Regions from separate parts of the Homo sapiens genome. Here region 1 is linked to region 2. Evidence: promoter capture Hi-C in human tissues and cell types (Jung and others, 2019). All regions are on one chromosome and are shown on one strand. Each heading gives the region's core, a stretch centred on a gene start or on the middle of the fragment in contact. The rest is flanking DNA. Distances are from core to core; before and after follow the strand shown.

Region 1 (5,302 bases), core at 2,184-4,683, 130 kb before region 2:
TGTGACTGTGTGTGTGTGGGTGACTGTGTGTGAGATTGTGTGTGACTGTGTGTGACGATGTATGTGTGTGATCCTGTGTGTGACTGTGTGTATGTATGAACTGTGTGTATGTGTGACTGTGTTTTTTTGACTCTGCGTCAGTGACTGTGTATGACTGTGTGTGACTGTGTGACTGTGTGTGGGTATGAGTGTGTGTGTGAGTTCATGTGTGAGTGAGTGACTGCATGAGTGCGTGTGTGTGACTCTGTGGGTGGTGTGGGAGACTGTGTGGCTATGTGTGTGACAGCATATGTGTCTCTGTGTGTGTGTCTGTGAGACTGAGAGACTGTGTGTGAGACTGTGTGTATGTGACTTTGTGTGTGTGTGTGAGTGTGAGTGTGCATGTGTGTAAGAATCCTTCCATGGGAAGGCATCAGAGGTGTCTTAGAGTGGCAGTGGACAGCAGCATCCATGCAGAAGGGGCAGCTTGTGGACAGAGTCACAGGCTGGTTAACTGGTGACAAATTCCTGAAGGTCCCTGACAAATTCAAGAAGAGCCTGTTCCCAGATCAGTGGGGTCTGGGTTTTGTGTTCACCTTTTCCCACTGCTCCAATGAGGCAGGACAGTGGGGCCAGATTGCATTCAACCATGGTCAAGGGCTCCCCTACAAGGTGGGGAGGACTAACTCCCTTCCCAGCCCAGGGACACAGAAGGTTAGAGCAGCCTGTCCAGTGGGAATTTGAGCTCAGACAAGGGAAGCCACTGTCTCAGAGTCACAGAGCAGGTCAGTGGCAGGCCCAGGTCCTGGATCCTCAAGCTCTTTGTCTCTGAAGAAATATTCCACCCCAGAGCATGAGAGTTATCTGAGCACTGACTCCCTGGCAGATGAGGTCATTTTGCCTGTTCTCTCTTTTCACCTTCATTGTGTGTGTGGTTTGTGTAAATATCCCCATCATATGGTGGAAAACTTAGGCTCAGAGAGGGGCAAAGGCCTGTGCAAGGCTACAGAGCTCAGAAGTGGCTAAGCAGAAACAAGGACCAGACAGAATTTCCCTTGACTTTGCTGTGGTCCATCTGGAGGTGGGGCAATTTACTGGGGGACAAGAGGCCATCAGCAGCCCTCTTGGTGGCCATGTGGGCTCAGGGGAGATGTGCATGTAGATGCTGGAGGCCATGATGTTTTCACCCTCGCTCATTTCTAAAGGGGCAAGAATCTTTGCATGGCACAGACCCCTCATTTGCCAAAATGACCCTCCCCTCCCTGCCTCTGGCCCCAGAGGTGAGTCACAGGTGGGTGAGGGTGGGGTCAGGCAAGGGCAAGGTGATGTTGCTAGCACACCCTTCAGGCCCTGCTTCAACCCACGACCCTTGGTCTAGACAGGACACTGGGTTTTTCAGGCAAAACCCAGATACATTGTATCAAAATTTGGATTTCAAATAATATTTTCAGGTGATTCACATGCACACTGATAATTTTAACTGGCAGTAATTCTATAAATGAAAGGGAAAAGAATATATAGATATATTGATTGTCAAAAATGTACAGTAAAGACTATGTTTCAATGCATATACATCTTATCTTACAAAAATAACTAAAAACAACAATAAAGAGGGGATAGGGAATGAGTTGAAGTAGAAATTAAACAGAAATAGGGCATAATTAGTAGATGTTGAGGCTGAGCATCATCTTATACTGAAGGGGTGGCCTGCCCCTCCACACCTGTGGGTGTTTCTGGTCAGGTGGGATGAGAGACTGAGAAAAGAAAGAGACACAGAGACAAAGTATAGAGAAAGAAAAGTGGGCTCAGGGGACTGGCACTCAGCATACGGAGGACCAAGGCCAGCACAAGTCTCTGAGTTCCCTCAGTATTTATTGATCATTATCTCTACCATCTTGGAGGGGGATGTGGCAGGACAATAGGGTAATAGTTGGGAGAGGGTCAGCAGGAAAACATGTGAACAAATGTCTCTGTATCATAAACAAGGTTAAGAAAAAGGTGCTGTGCTTTGATGTGCACATACGTAAACATCTCTGTGCATTAAAGAGCAGTATTGCCACCAGCATGTCTCACCTCCAGCCCTAAGGCGGTTTTCTCCTATCTCAGTATATGGAATATACAATTGGGTTTTACACTGAAACATTCCATTGCCCAGGGACAAGCAGGAGATAGATGCCTTCTTCTTATCTCAACTGCAAAGAGGCCTTCCTCTTTTACTAATCCTCCTCAGCACAGACCCTTTATGGGTGTTGGGCTGGTGGATGGTCAGGTCTTTCCCTTCCCATGAGGCCATATCTCAGGCTATCACATGGGGAGAAACCTTGGACGATACCTAGCTTTCCTAGGCAGAGGTCCCTGCAGCCTTCCACAGTGTTTTGTGTCCCTGGGTACTTGAGATTAGGGAGTGGTGATGACTTTAAACAAGCATGCTGCCTTCAAGCATTTGTTTAACAAAGCACATCCTGCGTAGCCCTCAATCCATTAAACCTTGAGTTGACACAGCACATGTTTCTGCAAGCACAGGGTTGGGGGTAGGGTTACAGATTAACAGCATCTCAAGGCAGAAGAATTTTTCTTAGTACAGAACAAAATGGAGTCTCTTATGTCTACTTCTTTCTACATAGACACAGTAACAGTCTGATCTCTCTTTTTTTCCCCCATATTATACTATTTTGGTTATTGTGTATAAGTTAAAATATTCTCTAATAAAACACTTGTATAAAAAGAAAAACTATAGCATTAGCTCTTAAGATCATGATTAGGTTTGGGGAGGAGGAAAAAAGGAAGTGGTTTGTGGGCAAAAACAGGGGTAGTTCTATTCTATAGTTATGCAATGTATTAGTTTTGTTACAACTTATTGAGCATTACATTAATATTTTATTGTGCATATATTTCTGTATGCGTGTTATACATCAATAAAATTTTAAATATTATTTAATCCTAACTTAATATTTCAGAATAATAGCAATGCTTGGTATTGTTTTGTTTGAAAGTGGGGCATTTACACTCAGGCATCATGAGATGGATACTAATATTCCAAGGTATTTACTCATGTCCTGACCCTTGGGCGTCCCCCTCAGTCTTTCATTTTTTATTTCAATTGAGTAAGTAACATGGTTTTAGTTTTGGGGAATGTAAATTTCTTACAGCAAAGTCCTTCCTCCACAACAATATTCACATAGCACAGTGGGCTGCACACAGTGTGCACTCAGTATGTGTGGAACTGGTTTGAATCAGGAACAAAACAAGTAGCAGAGGTCAGTTTTGCAAAGGATAGAATATGGGTAATACGAGTAAGACTGAAAGGCCACAACTCAACAGCAAACACGTTTTACATTAATTTGAGAAATATTTTCAACTGGTTCTCTGAAAGATGTTGGTTTACAGCAGACATTTTGGAGTATGGTTGCATATTGTAATCACCGGGAGAGCTTTAAATCACACTGCTGCCTGGGTCTCACTCTAGAGATTCTGGCTTAATTATTCCCTTGCAACTTGGGTTTGGGAACATTAAACAACACCACCCACATGCACAGCAGTTTATTCTAATGTGCACCCAAGGGTGAGAAGCATTGATTCAGGGTCAGGAATGCATTGGTTGTGTGTGATTTCTATGTGTGCTCTAGGCATTTGCCATATAGCTGCTCCTAGATGGGGGTCTTAGAAAACATCTTGGCCCTTCAAAACATACTCTGCTGGTTGGCTAAATTGCAACAGGGAAAAATATCAGCAGCTCTATCTCTATGTCACTTGCCTTCAGAGCAAAAGTTTTTTCAGGCACAGTAAGTTGATTTAGTCTGTATTAAAAATCACAGGCTGGGCGCGGTGGCTCACGCCTGTAATCCCAGCACTTTGGGAGGCCGAGGCGGGTGGATCACGAGGTCAGGCAGTCGAGACCATCCTGGCTAACACGGTGAAACCCCGTCTCTACTAAAAATACAAAAAAAAAATTAGCCGGGTGTGGTAGCGGGTGCCTATAGTCCCAGCTACTAGGGAGGCTGAGGCAGGAGAATGGCCTGAACCCAGGAGGCGGAGCTTGCAGTGAGCCAAGACAGCGCCACTGCAGTCCAGCCTTGGCGAAAGAGCGAGACTCCGTCTCAAAAAAAAAATAATAATAAAATAAAATAAATCACAAGTATCCTACCAATACAGAATAATGACACAAAGGGTTTGCAGATATGTGGAGTGCATTATAGGTGTTTTCATATTTATCCTATGATAAGAAATTAAAATGTAATGTTGGGCATTAATTTCCTACACTCAATGCTTAGCCATTTCCTCAAATCATTTCCAGTTTTTCCAAGAGACTTCAGAAGCATTCCCTGGAGTGAATTATTTCCAATGGTGAAGAGTACTGGATGGATGGAATGAGATTCTCAAAAAAAAATCTTGCTTCTATTTCAGAAATGTAACTCTTTAGCCCCTTGAAGGACCAGGAAACCTGGCTGAGTAGTGTGGTCTATGGAGGTGCATGGGCTTCAGAGACAACGTTGATCCTGAGTCCAAGCCAGCTGCTTAGTAGATGTGGGAGAGTTTTATACTTACCTGCAAGAAAAGACAAAACAAAATTGATTGCAAAAACAGAAATTAAAAAAATTTTTCTTATTGTATTCATATTCTTGGAAATGGCTTTTATAGTGGTTCCCATCAACAGACAGATTCTGTTTCCCAAACCTTGAATCTTCCTTATTTGCACAGGCCGAAGCTGTGCATATGACAGTGTGCCAGTTTGGGGCCCAGGCTCAAAAGGTCTTAAATGCTTCTGTTATCTTTTTCAGAATTTTTCCATGTCCATGAAAACAAGCCCATTTTAGCTTTCTGTAGGATAAAATAGCATGCTGAGAAAAGCCAAAGTGCGCCAGTTTACAGACAGCTCACTCCCAGAAGCAGAGCCACCTAATTCACCAGCAGCTGACCACTCACACCTGAAGGAGCCAAACTGAGCCCAGAAGAATGGCCCAGCTAAGCCCAGCCTAAATTTCTAACCAGCTCAACCCCCGAGAGAGAAGGCAGTCGAGGCTGGTTAGGAAAATAGGGACGGAGGGTCTCGGGAGAGGAAAAGCACCTGTGGGACTGCACCTGCCCCGCCCCTGTAGCTAGTGGGAAGAAATGTGGTTAAGAACTTCCTCTTATGCCAGGATGTTGCTCAGATGGGACTATCCCAGCTTAGACATAGGCAAAATAAATCAACCTAAATTTCCTTGTCTTCACCCAGCTCATTGTAAAGTCATTAACATGGTATTAGCATTGTGGTTTTAGCTTCTCCCCTGTAAGTTTCCCTTAGGCACTCATGGGTAATAACCAAAATGGAGTCACTGTGGTC
Region 2 (5,042 bases), core at 383-2,882:
CAATCCTGCATAACTACAAAACAAACTTATGTGTGTGAGCATCTATCCGCCCAAGCAGACAAGTGTCAAACTACGCGAATGCTGTCCAAGCACTGCGTGAGCATACACTTCTCTGAAAGCGTTCTGCTCATCAACAGGGCCAGCCAGTGACTTTTCTGATCGCTTAATGCACCTATCCAGTCTCTTCACAGGCGGCTCCTGGGGTCTGCCGGGGGTGCTGGCGTCGGGTTGGCCCTGGCGCTGTCCCCAGCCCCCACTCCCCAGGCCCTGCAGCGCCATGAGGTCGGACTCCTGGGCGTGTCCTGGGTTCTGACCCACCCGCGACGCCAGCTGCCCGCGCCCGGAGCGGATGGGCCTGGCCCGGCTCCACCCCGCGGGGCTCCGCGGCTCAACGGGTCGCCCAGGGGCGCGGGCCCGGCTTCGTCCTCGACGGTGTCCGCCCCGGCCCTGGCTAGGCCGACGGCAGCCGGGTCCGGGTGGGGCTCGGGCTCGGGGCGCGCCCCTCCCATCTCTCCAGGGTCCGCGTCCTCGCTGCCGCCAGGTCCCGCCGAGATCCCCGGTGGCCCCGGCTCCAGCGGCTGCAGCGTCGCCATCGCCGGGCAGACCCCGGCCGACCTCAAAGCGACCGCGCGGTGGGGCCGGCGGGGACTGGGGCTGCGCAGCGCGGCCTGGGGTGGGGGCGGCGGGGCCCCCAGGAGCTCCTGGGAACCGAGGGTCCTGGGGCGGTCCCGCCCCGCACAGCTCCGGGTGAGCTTGGGGAGGGAGACACACTCTCAGCCCACCTCGCCCCGCCCGACAGCGCTCCGAGTCCTGAGTCCCCTCACCCCCATTCTACAGACACGAAGGTGAAGCCAAAGACGGGACGCTCACTTCCTGAGAATTTGCTGCCTGCTGCGTGGACACCACCGACCTATTGTTTACAGCGGTCAGGGACCCGCCCCCCAGACCCCCAGGACCGCGCTTCCGGGGGAGGAGGGTGTCCTCAGCAACGGTGACCCGCACCAAAGCCCTCCTCACCGGGGTCACCGCCACAGCCGGTGCGAGGCCCGCAGGGCGCTGGGGATGCGCGACCGACTCCCGTGAACCTGCTCCTCGCGCGTCAGGGAGAGCTGTGCACCCAACTAGGCTCTGTGAGGACGGACTGAGGTCGGCCTGCAGGCTGCGGCCCCGAAGGCAGGATTTGTGGAGAGATGATTCGCGAGCCTTGGAGGAAGGATGGGCTGTGCGTGCGTGGGTGCGTGCGTGTGTGTGTGTGTGTGTCTGTGACTTTTGTATGTTTATGTGAGACTGCGTACGTGCGCGCGTCTGTGTGTGCGCGCGCGCGTATATGTCTGTGTGTGTGCGTGCGTGTATAATTTCTAAATGGACGTCACCTTACACATCACAAGGTTAAAAAATGACCCCTGGGCTGTGCCAGGCCAAGCACGAAGAGAAAGCCCCGCCTGAAACTGCCTGGAGGCCCCCCGGCTGTCACTCTCGCCACATTCCGTGGAGTATGTGGTTGCAACTTCTGTCACTCAAGGTCTGATGGCGGGGAGATTGGAGCCGTATCCAATCAGCGCACTGGAGTGAAAACTGCCCAATCAGGCACGCAGCCAGAGAGGAGGCGGTGGCTTCCGGGATGTGGCGCGGGTCTTTGCGTCTGGCTACTACCAGACCGCGGGTTAGGGGCTTCATCTCTCTGCGTTCTCAGTTGTGGGAGGCCTTGGTGATTCGGCCACAGCTCAGCCTCCGTCGCTCTGTGACCTGCGGGTATTGGATGATTGGTAGCTAAGACTCCCGAATACTTCAGAAGTGGGGAAATGGTGAGTGTGCGGGGCAGGGCGTCCCAAGGCTGAGGAGGTCTCATCGGAGCTGGCGGGAAATGGCGGCGGGACCGAGTCTGCGAACGGAGTCCCCGCTGCCGCCGCTCAGCCCTGGGGCCTCAGTACCCTCCGGTGAGGGACCTGGGCTCCTGTCGGTCCCCGCACAGCGGCTCTGGCCCAGCCTGCAGCCCTCCTTGTGCAGCTCTGCGCCCGCAGCCCCGCACCTTCCCCAGGCTGTGGGGTGAGGAGTAGCTTATCTGGAAGCCGCCCGCGCGGCGTGCGCGATGCCGGCGTGGGAGGAGCTGTGGGAGAAGCTGTGGTCTGGGGATCCCGTCCCTGCTTTACCCTGTTCGGAATGAGATCGAGGCCCCATCAAAACAGAGTTCATGTGAGCAAATGGGGACTCATTAATGGGACAGCGCCGGCCGTGGCTCGTGGTTTGGGGGCTGCCAGCGGGTCTTGAAGGAAAAGCTTTTGTGAGGTGTGTGAGGAAGCGAAGCAAATCACCCGCCCGCTCCAACTTGCCCACCAGTCTCCTTGCCCTGTGCGCCTCCTCCGCGTGGCTGTTCCTGAGTGGCATCTTTTAGAATACGCTAGTGTGGGCGCGCACAGCGCTTCGCTGAGTTCTGTGAGTAGTTCTGTCATATTATTGAACTTGAGGAGGGTGTGGGCCCCTGGTTTGTAGACAGGTGTTCAGAAATGAAGACGGGTGTCCAGAGGCAGGGACTGGCGTCTGCAGGGGGGCAGCTGCGGGAAGAGCGCTGAGCTTGTGGGGTCTGTGCTGACTCCGGGTGGTGTCGTTAGTGAGTTGTTGGACAGCCCGTTGGGGTCGGAGCATTGACTGGTGTTGAGCAAACTCCTCACGTTTCCTGTCAGAAGAAAGACATGGCTGAGCCTGGGCTGGAGGGAGTCGCAGGTGTCCGCGGGAGACCAGCCGGGTTCTGCACATGCACTGTCCTGCTGCGCACTGTTCTGTTCCTCCAGGTCTCCTCCCGGGGAGAGAGGGCGCTGAGAACTTGGAGGAAAGGAGTTCTGAGAAACATCCCTTCCCTGCACCCTGCTGCCAGCCCCCACCCAATGCTAACCCACTCCTGAGCCCGCCCATTGGGCATTCGCACGGCCACACTTGTCCCAGGACAGGGTTCTACCCTCAGGAATTGTGCCCATGGCAGCTTTGCTCCTAGGTTTTTCTCCCAAGAACACACACAGTGCCCAGAAGACTCCTGGTTCATTTTAACCCCAGATCTGTAGCAGGAATCTGTTTTCTTCACCCACCCAGGCTTTTGGACCACCTGATCCTAATCTCCTCTGCCTTTATGGGCTCAGGAATCAGTTAGAGCTTAGCCCTGCCTGGGCCTGAACTTGTAGCACAAACCAGTCCTTTCGTCAATCCTGCCTTGCCCCCACTCAAGGCTCTTGATAGCACCTTTCTTCTGCTCTTTTCTTCCCCACAAATCCTCTTTCCTGTGCACACAGTTTGCTCAAGTGCATCCCTCATGTGCTACAAGAATTCAACGTTAGTGAGTTCAAGACCATGCCTTTAGACCTGCCTGTTGTAGGACCAAATACAAATCAGAAGAGGCTTAATGCTTTCTCTTTAGAATGAGGAAAGAATTTTTACTCTTCTCCCTTAAAGCATTTAGTTTGAAAACTTTTATATTTAAATATTTTCTCTGCTTCTTTGAAATATATATAACTCATTTTAATCTGTTAACTAGGTGATTTGTCTTTTTTGACTCAAAATTGTCTTTAGGACATGGAAACTATTGCTTTGAAATGTGCATAGCAAGAATATATAACCTATTCCGCAATTTCTGTAGCAGAGTAGGAGGCTGCCTTCAGCAGGTACCTGCCTTCACATATCAAATCTACCTCCTGTCCTGAAGCTGTGGGAAGTTTATTTTCCCTTTGAATATTACCAATTAGGAAACCCGGATGACCTCCCAAATTACTAGGTGAAAGTGTAATAAACTATGTATGATACATGGTACTGTCAAGTCTTCTACTTGAGAGCTAATTATGGTGACTTTCTTTGTTTTGGCAGTCTCTTAGTAGACTGCCTGTAATGCACACCACATTTTGTTTAATTCTCTAACAACACATTTTCTTGCTGTTCTATTATTTTGGACAGTATTTTAGGATTGTAGATGATTTTGCTGTTATATTTTCCACACGCTGTCAAGAATTACTAGATGTTATACACAAAGTGCCCACCAGGCTTCGTTTTAGAGAAGAACCTTCTTTCTCAGGATTCCAGTCACAACCCACAGTTGTGCAGCAAAGTGCACGAAGTGCAGCAAAGTGCTCCCCAAAGCTGCAAACAAAATGATCTCTCTATTTGGGATCTACAATCCCTTCTATAGCAGTTTGACTAGATTTCTACAAAAATGACTTTTTAGGATAGCGATCAGTTTTTCCACCTCTTTCAGTGTGCCAATGATCTTCAGATCTGACACTGATTCAGAAATCATGGGGCCCATAAATCCAGCGAGGTTCACACATGTGCATTGATTAAACCTGAGAACTTCCATTCTCTCCCTTCTCCCCTTGCCCAAATGCCCACAAATGTGCTTACCAGCCCTCCAAGTCTTAAATGTGCAGTTCCAAATTCTGAGTTTATGTCCTGGGATTTGAGAGAAGAACAGAACTTTTGTTTGAGAAATACAAGTTCTTTTAATTACGAGACCAAGTGATGTGTTAAAATGAGACCACAGTCCTACCGTTCCCCTCTTTGAACTGTTTGTCTTTTGAAGTTGTTTGCTATTGCCACAAGTGGATATAAATTAACCTAATAATGCCATACTGGACACTATAACCCACACCTTATAGCTTAACAACGTACATAGCCAATCACTAACCAATGTTACTTCTATAAACCAATAAGAATTTCTGACAGCTTTCTATCAGTTCCGTCTGCCTTTCTTTTTGCCTTTAAAAATATACTTGTAACTGCTTCTAATTGGAGTGTATATTCAGGGCAGCTTTATAGTCCAGGGTTGCAATCTTCAAGCTTTGGCCCAAATAAACTCTCTTCTTATATTATGTTTACCCCACCTTTTTCCTTTTAGGTCAAAAAAACATTTTTCTTTTTTTTTTTTTTGAGACAGAATCTCGCTCTGTCGCCAGGCTGGGGTGCAGTGGTGCGATCTCGGCTCACTGCAACCTCCGCCTCCCAGGTTCAAGCAATTCTCCTGCCTCCGAGTAGCTGGGATTACAGGCGCACGCCACCATGCCCGG

The links. The method cuts DNA at HindIII sites, captures the fragments that hold promoters and counts their contacts. A contact is called where the count stands out against the background at its distance.
Region 1: a contact is called between a fragment that was not itself captured here and the fragment with the promoter of ZNF141 in region 2, in 2 of the 25 tissues and cell types used here (hippocampus and mesendoderm cells).

The regions. Positions count from the first base shown.
Region 1 is chr4:206,126-211,427 of GRCh38, forward strand. No RefSeq gene overlaps it. Among named protein-coding and RNA genes, the nearest start is that of ZNF718, 84 kb to the left of the region's middle. The HindIII fragment of the contact is 9,234 bases long and covers 1-5,302 here.
Region 2 is chr4:336,182-341,223 of GRCh38, forward strand. ZNF141 (zinc finger protein 141) reads left to right here and starts at 1,633. Exons shown (of 4, transcript NM_003441.4): 1 at 1,633-1,805. The coding sequence starts at 1,803. RefSeq lists silencers at 343-402, 633-742 and enhancers at 757-1,272, 1,378-2,338, 1,383-1,482. The HindIII fragment of the contact is 20,671 bases long and covers 1-3,545 here.